3 separate regions of the Homo sapiens genome follow, and all the other regions are linked to region 2. The links are contacts of gene promoters, found by promoter capture Hi-C in blood cells and fetal thymus (Javierre and others, 2016). All regions are on one chromosome and are shown on one strand. Each heading gives the region's core, a stretch centred on a gene start or on the middle of the fragment in contact. The rest is flanking DNA. Distances are from core to core; before and after follow the strand shown.

Region 1 (3,527 bases), core at 191-2,690, 83 kb before region 2:
TCATGATCCATCTTGATACTCTCTCCACCATTTTCTCTCTTTGTGCTTTTTAAAATTATTAGTATATTTAGGCTCAAGTTGGCCTTATATTATTTATTTTCATTTGTTTCTCTGTTTGTTGTTCCTCTGTTTCTCTTTTCTTGCCTTCCTGTGAGTTATTTGCACATTTTTAATGTGTTTTAATTTTAATGTGTGTATCACTTTGTATAGTTTCTCCTAGTGGTTACTCTACATATATATGTGTGTGTGTGTGTACTATATATATACTTAAATTATCAGTCTACTTGTATTGATATTTTGTCACTTAGAGTGAAGGGTAGAAACCTCACTTTTATTTAGGTACCTTTCCCTCCCACTTTAACAATATATTTATACTAAGTACTAACTTTACATATACTAAACATCACCATGTGTGGTGTAACAATTTTCGCTTCAACCAACAAATATTTTAAGAAAATCATGAAGAGAAAAGTCTCTTGTATTTAACTCTCATTTTTATCCATTCTGATATTTTCTTTTCTGAATTTTTAAAACTTCTCTTATCATCTCTTTTAATTTTTATCTAGAGAACATCCTTTAGCCTTCCTTTAAGAGTAGGCTTACAAATAAATTATCTGACTGTTCTTTATGTGAGAATGCCTTTATTTTCCCTTTATTCCTGAAGTATACTTTCACCGGATATAGGATTCAGGATTAATCATTTTTTTAAGCATTTGTAAAGCACGCCACTCTCTTCTGAACTCTGTGGTTTCAGAAGAGAAATCTACTGTCACTAAAATTGTTATTCCTCCATAGTTATATATTGTTTCTCTCTATTAAATTTTTTCATTGGCTTTAATTTTTCAGAAGTTTGTAAGGTGTTATGGCCCCTGTGCTGAGTTCTACTGAAGCCATTCCAAGCATTTTGTGGACAGTCTTTTCATTGTCTGTCTGGAGTCAGACAGTTATGGCTAAAAATTTTTTTCTTTTTTATTATTTCACCCTTCTTAACCCTTTGGCTGAGTTGAGCAGGCTTCCCTTGTTCTGTTTCGGTTTGTTTGTTTTAATTTTTGTCTGATCCTGTTAGTGGTTCTGGGGTTGAGACTTCTGCAGTGCTCTGTCTAGTATATATGGGAAGCAAAAAGGAAACTCAGAGAAGTCATTTTCATGCTGATACTCAAGTCCAAGGTCCTTACACAGTCTGCTTTCTTAGTTTCACTTCTAGAGTCTTCCTATGCTTGTTTGTTATGTATGCTCAAGTTTTTCAGTTTTAAGAAGGAGGACCTGAGAGAATGTGGCTCCTCTATCTTGGCCATTACCCTACCACTAAGTGAACCTGCATTTTTTTGCTTGAATGAATTAAGATTTTGCTTAAGTTCGCCGTGTAGCAGGTCAATTATCTACAGATGCAAGAAAACAGAGGTTTCCTGACCTGCTATATATATCACAAGCAATTCTTCTAATTGGTGGGGCTTTAAAATCTGGGTAAAAAGTTCTTCACTGTGGTTCAGGGCTATGAAACATATTTGTAAGCTGACAAATCACTATGGCATATGGTATGTGTAAACCCTCTCGATAGAAAAAATTCTGTCAAGAAGTTGCTCTCAACTGAACAATAAAGAACTAAACGTTTGAGGCATCCTTTTATTAGTATTGTCTATTTCTATTTGTTATGAATCTTTGTTATTTTCTTTAAAACAATTATTACTCTGTCAAGCGCATTTGCAAACTACTTATATGGAATGTTATAGTTCAGCATCTATACTGTATAAAAATTGCAAATATACGAAGAAGAAGCACCTACAGTATGTGATCATTCGCGAGTCAAGCTCCTGCTTTTCAGTTGCCTTCAGAAAATTCTAAAATGCTGAAGGTAGCGTATTTATTGATGGTACCACTAATATAAATATGGACACAGTCTATTGGAAAAGATAACTTAAAAGATAAAACAATGCCACAAAGAAACAACAAAGGATTTCTCCAGTATAATCTGAACCATGGTAATATTTTCAACAAGCAATATCTAATAATATCTGTTTAATGCACAAACCATTTTGTTTTGAACAAATACAAGTAATTTGAGCTTTTTTTAAATATGGTCATAAGTTACCCATTTGCTATTAATTGTATATTAATATTCATCTTTCAGGTTTTCACCTCCTTTAGTAGTCTTCATCTGTTTGTTAAAAATGTCTTAACTTTTCTTCCATAAACCCCTTTACATGAGCATGTACTCGTAGAAACTCCTGGACCTGCAGTTTTCTTTGCTCCTGAATTCTTTCCTACAACATATTTCATATATTATAATATTTTTAAAAATAATTTAGGTTAGCTGAGGATCTATTTTTCTACTTTTCCCCTTACAGTAAGATAATTTATCAAATATTATTTACCCTATAAACTATTTTCTCTTTTCATTTATTTATTTATTTGATTTTTATGTTTTGTGTATATATAGTAGGTGTCTATATTTATGGGGTACATAAGATGTTTTGATACAGACATGCAATGTCAAATAAGCACATCATGGAGAATGGGGTATTCATCTCCTCAAGCATTTATCCTTTGAGTTACAAACAATCCAATTACACTCTTTTAAATTATCTTAAAATGTACAATTATTATTGACTATAGTCACTCTATTGTGCTATCAAACAGTAGGACTTATTCATTCTTTCTAGCTATTTTTGTACCCATTAACCACCCCTACCTGCTCCCCAACCCCCAACTACCCTACGCAGCCTCTGGTAACCATCCTTCTATTATCTATGTCCATTGGTTCAATTGCTATGATTTTTAGATCCCACAAATGTGAGAACATGTGATGTTTATCTTTCTGTGCCTGGATTATTTCACTTAACATAATAATCTCTAGTTCATAGAATAATCATTCTATGCCTTTTTCTCTGTGATTTCAATATTCAAGCTTCATATTTGTCTTAATATCTGATAGGGTGAGGGGCTTCTTTTATTATCTTTCTTAAATTTCCCTATTAAAAAGTTCTTATTTTCCCATTTAAAACTTACAATATGTTCATCTATCCACCCTCTAAAAATCCTATGGATTATGATTGTCTTTGTATTTATTTATAGATTGTTTGAGAAAAATTTGCTTCTTTCATTGCCAGACCATCTCACCCATGAACATGTATGTCAGTTATTTTTCCAGATTTTTTAAAAAATCTGTTTAATAGAGTTTTAACGTGTTCTTCATTCATACTGGCTAATAAATTTTAATTGGACTAATCTCTTGATATTTCCTAATATATTAAGAATGGAAGTGAAATTATTAAACCTGATAAAAGGAGCTGCTAAACAAATATAAAAAGTAATGTATATTATGTACAAAGAAGCCATTGTAACATGCCTGTCATGACTGCAATCATTCAAAGTATAAAATATAGCTGCAATTACTTAACAAAGTTGTTTAAAATACCCAGGAGTATTTTGAAAACTAGACATCCATCTAGGTCTTTTCTCTTATATGTGACTTATTTTTCCTTTCTGAAAACTTTAAACAATTTTCCTTCTTGCTGTGTTATTTAAAT
Region 2 (3,472 bases), core at 959-3,458:
TTAAGGTCAGATTGAAGTCAGTCTGTCAGTCCAACGTGTGTATGGTATTTTGTGACCCAAAAAGACCACATATACTTATTTAGCTTAATAATAAATGTACCAATATTTGACAAGCAAAATGCCTTCTACATCATGGTGCATCTAGTGGTCATTTAGTCATAACTCAGTAAAAAGTTAGAGAAAAACTATCAAGTTTGAATAATGAGGCAAAAATATTTTTCCTTTTTATACTGTTTTGTGTCTACTTATGGTAATTTCTCACAGAACTGCCTATAGCTTAGTAAGTCAAACCATGTCCTAAAACTCAAGTGCAATCCCACAGCTTACAAATATTAGGGGTAGGTTTGTCTAGATACAGAAGAAAAGTGCATAAAGTGGGAGAGAATTAACACTGGAAATACTTACTACATGGCAGGCAGCTTACATATATTATGTATCACAATTAAATACAATTAATATTATTCCCATTTATGATAAATATGAAAATTTACAATCAGAATAATAATTTCCTAATAAAGTAGGTGCTGTGGCTCATGCCTGTAAGTCCAGAACTTTGGGAGGCCAAGACAGGAGGATTGCTTGAAGCCAGAAATTCGACACTAGCTGGGCAACATAGCAAGACTCTGTCTCTACAAAAAAATTTAAAAAATTAGCTGTGTATAGTAGTGCACACCATGGTCTCAGCTCCTTGGGAAGCTGAAATAGGAGATCCCTTGAGCCCAGAAATTCAAGGCTACAATGAGTTCTGATCTAACCACTGCACTCCAGTTTGGATGATAGAGTGAGATCCTGCTTCAAATAAAATAAAATATGATATAAAATAAAATAATAAAATATAAAAATTTCCCAATACACATTGGTATAGAAATTTAGCCCATTTCCATTAAAACAGAAATATCAAGCTTTTAACAACATTCTACACCACTAAGTAGAGAAGAGAATGGGCTGTGGATGCTTCTGGGTCTGGTCCTTCCCCACAAAATACATTTTGCCACAGAAAGAGGATTGTGTAGAAGGTTGTTCCATGGTGATTTTTTCCACATAGCTGATTTGGTTTATTGAGAGCTTCCACTTCACATGTTCATAAAGTAAACAGATTCTAGGAGTTACTTGGAGACATGGCAGCAAATGGTTAACCATTTTTTAATGGTAAAATCTGACCTGAGTTTCTGAGTTCTCAACTCTCTTATAACAGACATTTAGAAGTATCCAATTCTTGAACTCAAAATTAACTATAATTTTAAAATGTGCCTATTGTGTAGACATTGATCTGTGATTATACATTTTGTCACATTGATCAATAAAGCTAAATATAAAAATGAAAATGAACAGAAACTATTGAATTATGCACCACAAGGTGCAATCTATATGCCAATATGAGCATGCAGAAATGTCTGCGTGCTATGTATATGCTACTTGTGATTTATTAATTTATACTTCTTTATTTATATAAACTCAATATTTAAGATTATTGTATTTTAGAATCAGAGGAAATCTGAAATTGTTAGTCCACCCCACTTCATTATTGTGCTATGGAAACAAGCCTGGAATGATTGACATCTTCCATAGATGAACAGAACCAAATAATGATAATTTAGCTTGGAGATCAATATTATCTTTAATTTTATACAACCAGAAAATACAAGTAAATACAGCACATCTTTGAATATAGAAATACCAATGAGTTATGGTGTGTTTGGCCATTGAGTTCTGAAAGTCACTGTGGCCTTGTATTTACAAACATTAAAGATAAAATTATTATCCAAAACAGTAATGTCCAATAGATTATTAATAAACATTTTAGATAGCTGTAAAAAACATTGTGTTCTCTAGAGTTCATAAAAATTATGAGCTTAATTTCAATCCAACAGAAATAATTCTGAAAACTCTAATGTTGTGATGCTAATAATTGGGCTAAGAATTTTCAAACTATTGACTGGCAAAAACATGGATAAATTGTAATATATGAACTTCAAAGAATAAATGCACAATTACAAAACTTGATATAGCAATTTATTTTTAAAAGCCATTTGAGGAATCACCAAATAATTTCAAAATCATGACTAGAAAACCAGCAATGAAATTTGAGACTACTGGTATGACAAATCCTGTTTCAGGCCTTGTTGATCTAGAGTTACTTGCACAACCAGAATTTGCCAAAACAGGAAATAGGTGTTTCATATATACGGCTCTAACCTTCTCTCTCTGCACCTTCCTTCTGTCAATAGATGAAACAAATACTTCATCCTGCTCTGGAAACCACTGGTAAGTGATAACTCCTTTATTTCAAGGTGAACATTATTTATTTCAAGGTGAACAACACATTTATACCTTATCAATGATAAAGTGATATATTCGTATATTTTATCTACAATTTTCCAAAGTTTATTGATAACTTTTAATGAGAGTAATTATCTTAATATATTCATTTTAAGCTGAGAAGCTAATACATAGACAGCTTTATTATTCCAAAAGCACTTTTATCCAGTTTGAAATTTAAATAAATTTTTACCTTTCATTCTAAAGTAATATAACTAATTCCCATGTCTATGACTTGTGGAAACAATTGTACTAGAACTATTTTTAATAGAAAAATGAAAAACTATGAATATATGTGTGTGCATACTTTCACATCAGTAACTTTTACTAATATTAAAACATACAGCTATATGGGATGCCATAGCAAAAGTTTTAAATTGGTCAAAACAAAATTATAGCACTGATCTCAAGATTAAAAAGTATTTTATTAAAGACCATCAACATAAAATGCAATTTACCTCATGAAATGCACTCAGATCAAAAACAAAAAAAAAAGGCTTTTAGAAGTTTTTCAGTCAAAAGTCAGTCTACTCAGTCATGTTTATGTAGGTAATTTAAATATAATATCTATCGTGCATATTTCATCTAAGGAAGCAATTTCCACATACGGCTTTATCTTCCGTAGCATATTAGAAGTGATTCTGAAGAGTCAGATAGTAGGAGACCACAGAACTACCTAATGACAACATGAAAGGGGTTATTTACCACTAGACAGAAGATTTTAAAGTAAAATGCTTTTCTTCCCTGTGGCTAAATGCTATCCAGGAAACTCTGGGAGTATTTGCAATAGCCATAGAAGATCCGGTGTTGCCTCTTCTGCTAGTTAAAACCAAATCTAGAATGTCTGCCTGTATGACTAAGACCTCTGAAAGTGGATCAAAAGAAATTAAATTGATGACAAGTTTCAAGCCTGGGAGTTACCCTACATTGATAAGTTATGAGGTAAATTGGGGCTTCTGATTTGTAACAGGCAGGGATGAATTGGGAGGAAGAGTGTCAGAATTCTCAAGTAATGTAAATCTGATAATTGCTATGAATTTCAGTTACGTTATTTATTGAATTCAAGTAAAAGGGAGGGAATTCATCCTTGAAAAAAAAGTGCTTCTCAAGAAATGCAAGACAGCTATTCTTATTTGGATATCTTTACGAATTT
Region 3 (3,328 bases), core at 698-3,197, 100 kb before region 2:
TTATATCTCGTGGATTATTAAAAACAATAAATTAGAATCTTATGAAAATATTAATTGGAACATGTGCTTTTTTTTTCTTTCCACTACAGAGTTGGAGTGAAGAGGCTGCACAAAATGCCAGAATTTTTTCAAAGTATTGTGATATGACAGAGAGCAACCCCCTTGAGAGGAGACTTCCAAGTAAGTGTGTATCTATATGACCCGCCTTTGGACTAAAAAAAAAAAAAATAGTAAAACAGGGATTGTTATGTACCCTGATGAAAGTAAATTAAGTCATCTAGATTTCCTCATTTGCACTGGGTCATACAAGGCAGTGAATTGTGGACTATTACACTGTTTTAACTCATTAATTTTTAAGGTTTATATCTTTAAGTTTTCAGATTCCAAGTTCTGGAGTTTTCAGATTCCAAGTTCTGACCATCAGGAGAAATGAATAAAAAATCTCAGTATTGCAGAAGAGTGGAGTGAGCAGCTAGAAACCTAGGTCTCCATTCTGTGGAGTTACTATAGCTACTGAACAATAGCACCATGGGGATCTGCTTAGCTTTGGAACGATAATGCAGTTGAGAAATAAGTTATATGCAGCCCTGCTCAGCTGCCCATAAGACAATTTTAGGTGCTCAAAAATGAGCCCATCTTAAAGCATATAAATTAGGTAACTTACTGCTAGTTTCCAGGAAATAATAAAAAAAAACATTATTGCTTCTGTGTTACGCTGTTTTTGTGTTGCTGTAAAGAAATACCTGAGCCTTGGTAATTTATTAAGAAGAGATTTCATTAGCTTATGACTCTGCGGGCTGTACAGGAAGCATGGCACCCACATCTACTTGGCTTTTGGTGAGACCTTAGGAAGCTTACAATCATGGCAGAAGGTGAAGGGGGAGCAAGTGTCTCACATGGTGAGAGAGGGAGCAAGAGAGAGAGAGTTGGGGGGTGCCACATACTTTTAAACAACCAGATCTCATGAGAACTCACTCACCATTATGAAGACAGCACCAAGTTCTTTGAGGAATCCACTACCGTGAGGTAAACGTCTCCGGTCAGGCCCCACCTTCAACACGGGGATTACATCTCAACATGAGATTTGGAGGGGACATCCAAACTATATCACCTTCACTCAGGAATAAACATTATATTTTAACATGAGAATCTTTTTTTAATTAACATGTTTTAAAAATGCTGATTCACATTTATATCTACAGATTATTTGGAATCTTAGTCCAATGCTTTTTAGCAGTGAATTAGCAAAGTGGTTCCTGCCTGCCTTAAGAAAAGACAGATACTCCTGAATACCATGTTCAACCAAAAGCCCACACCATACATGAATGGCTAAATAAACAAATGTTTATTCAACATCTTTGTATTATGAACACCTGTGTGTAGCTTCCTTTAAGCCATAGACCCTGTTAGCACTCTTATGCTTCTCTGATTTGGTTTCACCTATCTAAAGCAGCTTGGAAGCAGCAGAGACTGAAATGTTGATGATTTGATTTCAAAACTTGTTCATCACCTACTATCAACGTTTCACCAAACTTGAGTACCACATGCTCATTCATCAATGAGAAAGATTTTCAGTGGGGATACAACTTATTTTACTCCCTCTCAGAAGATGTTGTCAAGATGATCAGTGAACCATTCATAAAATAAAAATGAGGAAAGTCTCCTTGTATACTATTTCCCATTTGTTCAGAGTATGACCCAGCCCGTTTTCTCATTTCAGATACCTTTTGTGGAGAAAATATGCATATGACATCTTATCCTGTATCATGGTCAAGTGTAATTGGAGTCTGGTACAGTGAGTCTACAAGTTTCAAACATGGAGAATGGACAACAACGGATGATGACATAACTACTGACCACTACACTCAGGTAACCTGTGTGCTGGCAAACACACACATTGTTTAAGAGATAAGCATGTGTGTGGAAACGTAACTAAGAAACAACTGAAAATCATTCTACCTTCTTATGGCAATCTTTACTCAATTTACTGAGTTCCTCTTATAATTTGAAATAGAAGGAAGTGTTCTGTTCAAAATACGACTTAGAGAAGATGCTTAACCTCTTAGTATCCTTCTTTACTCACTAGATTTTTCAGGAACTCACAAAATCATAAGACATCAATCTCATTTGATATTGGTAGTATTTGTAAAAGTGAAAATAATGGTACCTTACAATACAGAGAAACCCCTGATTTCTAACTTTAGTTTTATTGTGGTAAGATATACATTTAAAAAATTACCATTTTAACTATTTTAAATGGTTTCATGTTCAGCATTAATGTGGCATGAATGTTCAGTGGCAATAAGTCCACTCAAATCGTTGTGCAACGCCATCGCCAGAATATTTTCATTTTCCCAAACCGAAACTCTGTACTCATTAAACAATACCTTCCATTCCTCTCCCTACTTCCCCAGACCTCTGGCAACTACCACTCTACTTTCTGTCTCTGTGAATTTCACTACTCAAAGTACCTCATAAATTTGGAAACATACAATATTTGTCCTTTTGTGTCTGCTTTATTTCACTCAGCATGATATATTAAATCCATGTTCATCCATGTTGTAGCATGTGTCAGAATTGTATTCTTTTTTTTAAGGCTAAATGCTATTTCATTGCATGTGTATATCACCTTTTGCTTGTCTGTTCTGATGGGCATTTGAGTTGTTTCCATTTTTTTTTTTGGCTATTGTGAATAATACTGCTTTAAATATTGGTGTGAAAATATCTGTTTGAGTGCTTGCTTTCAATTGTTTTGGGCATATGCCAAGGAGAGGAATTACTGGATCATATGTGAATACTGTGTTTATTATTTGAAAAACTGGAGTACTATTATATTTTCTGTTGCAGCTGCACCATTTTACGTTCCCACCAGCAATTTACAAAATTTGCAATTTCTTCACATCTTTGCTCTATTAATCTGCTTAGGATGCCATAACAAAATACCACAGCTGGGTGGATTAAACAACAGAACTTTATTTTCCCACATTTTGTATCCTAGAAGTCTATGATCTTAATAGAGCATAGTTTCTAGTGAAAGCTTTCTGCCTGACACCTTCTCACAATGTCCTAACATGGCTTCTCCCCAGTGCAAAAGAGGAGCCAGAGAGAGTCAAGGATAGAGACAGAGACAAGAGAGACCATAAGAGCAAGCTGTCTAGCATCTGTTCATGTAAGGACACAAATCCTACTGGAACAGGGCCCAAGTCGTATGACTTTATTTAATCTTAATTATTTCCTTAGAAACTCTATTTTCAGATACAGCTACACTGGATGGAAGTTAGAGGTACAGAATACGAATTTTGGGGGAAGAATTCAGCTCATAACATTG

Evidence for each region. Contacts are between HindIII fragments. The CHiCAGO score rates a contact against its expected background, and 5 or more counts as called.
Region 1: a fragment that was not itself captured here is called in contact with the fragment with the promoter of CRISP3 in region 2 in 1 of 17 cell types (erythroblasts); the score reaches 10.3 in erythroblasts.
Region 3: a contact is called between a fragment that was not itself captured here and the fragment with the promoter of CRISP3 in region 2, in 1 of 17 cell types (erythroblasts). The highest score is 11.1, in erythroblasts.

What each region holds. Positions count from the first base shown.
Region 1 is chr6:49,824,896-49,828,422 of GRCh38, reverse strand. No RefSeq gene overlaps it. Among named protein-coding and RNA genes, the nearest start is that of PGK2, 39 kb to the right of the region's middle. The HindIII fragment of the contact is 2,934 bases long and covers 1-2,907 here.
Region 2 is chr6:49,743,124-49,746,595 of GRCh38, reverse strand. It overlaps CRISP3 (cysteine rich secretory protein 3), which reads left to right and starts at 2,208. Exons shown (of 8, transcript NM_006061.4): 1 at 2,208-2,265. The coding sequence starts at 2,229. The HindIII fragment of the contact is 5,260 bases long and covers 905-3,472 here.
Region 3 is chr6:49,845,061-49,848,388 of GRCh38, reverse strand. It overlaps CRISP1 (cysteine rich secretory protein 1), which reads left to right. Exons shown (of 8, transcript NM_001131.3): 4 at 90-180; 5 at 1,721-1,869. Among named protein-coding and RNA genes, the nearest start is that of CRISP1, 20 kb to the left of the region's middle. The HindIII fragment of the contact is 2,184 bases long and covers 856-3,039 here.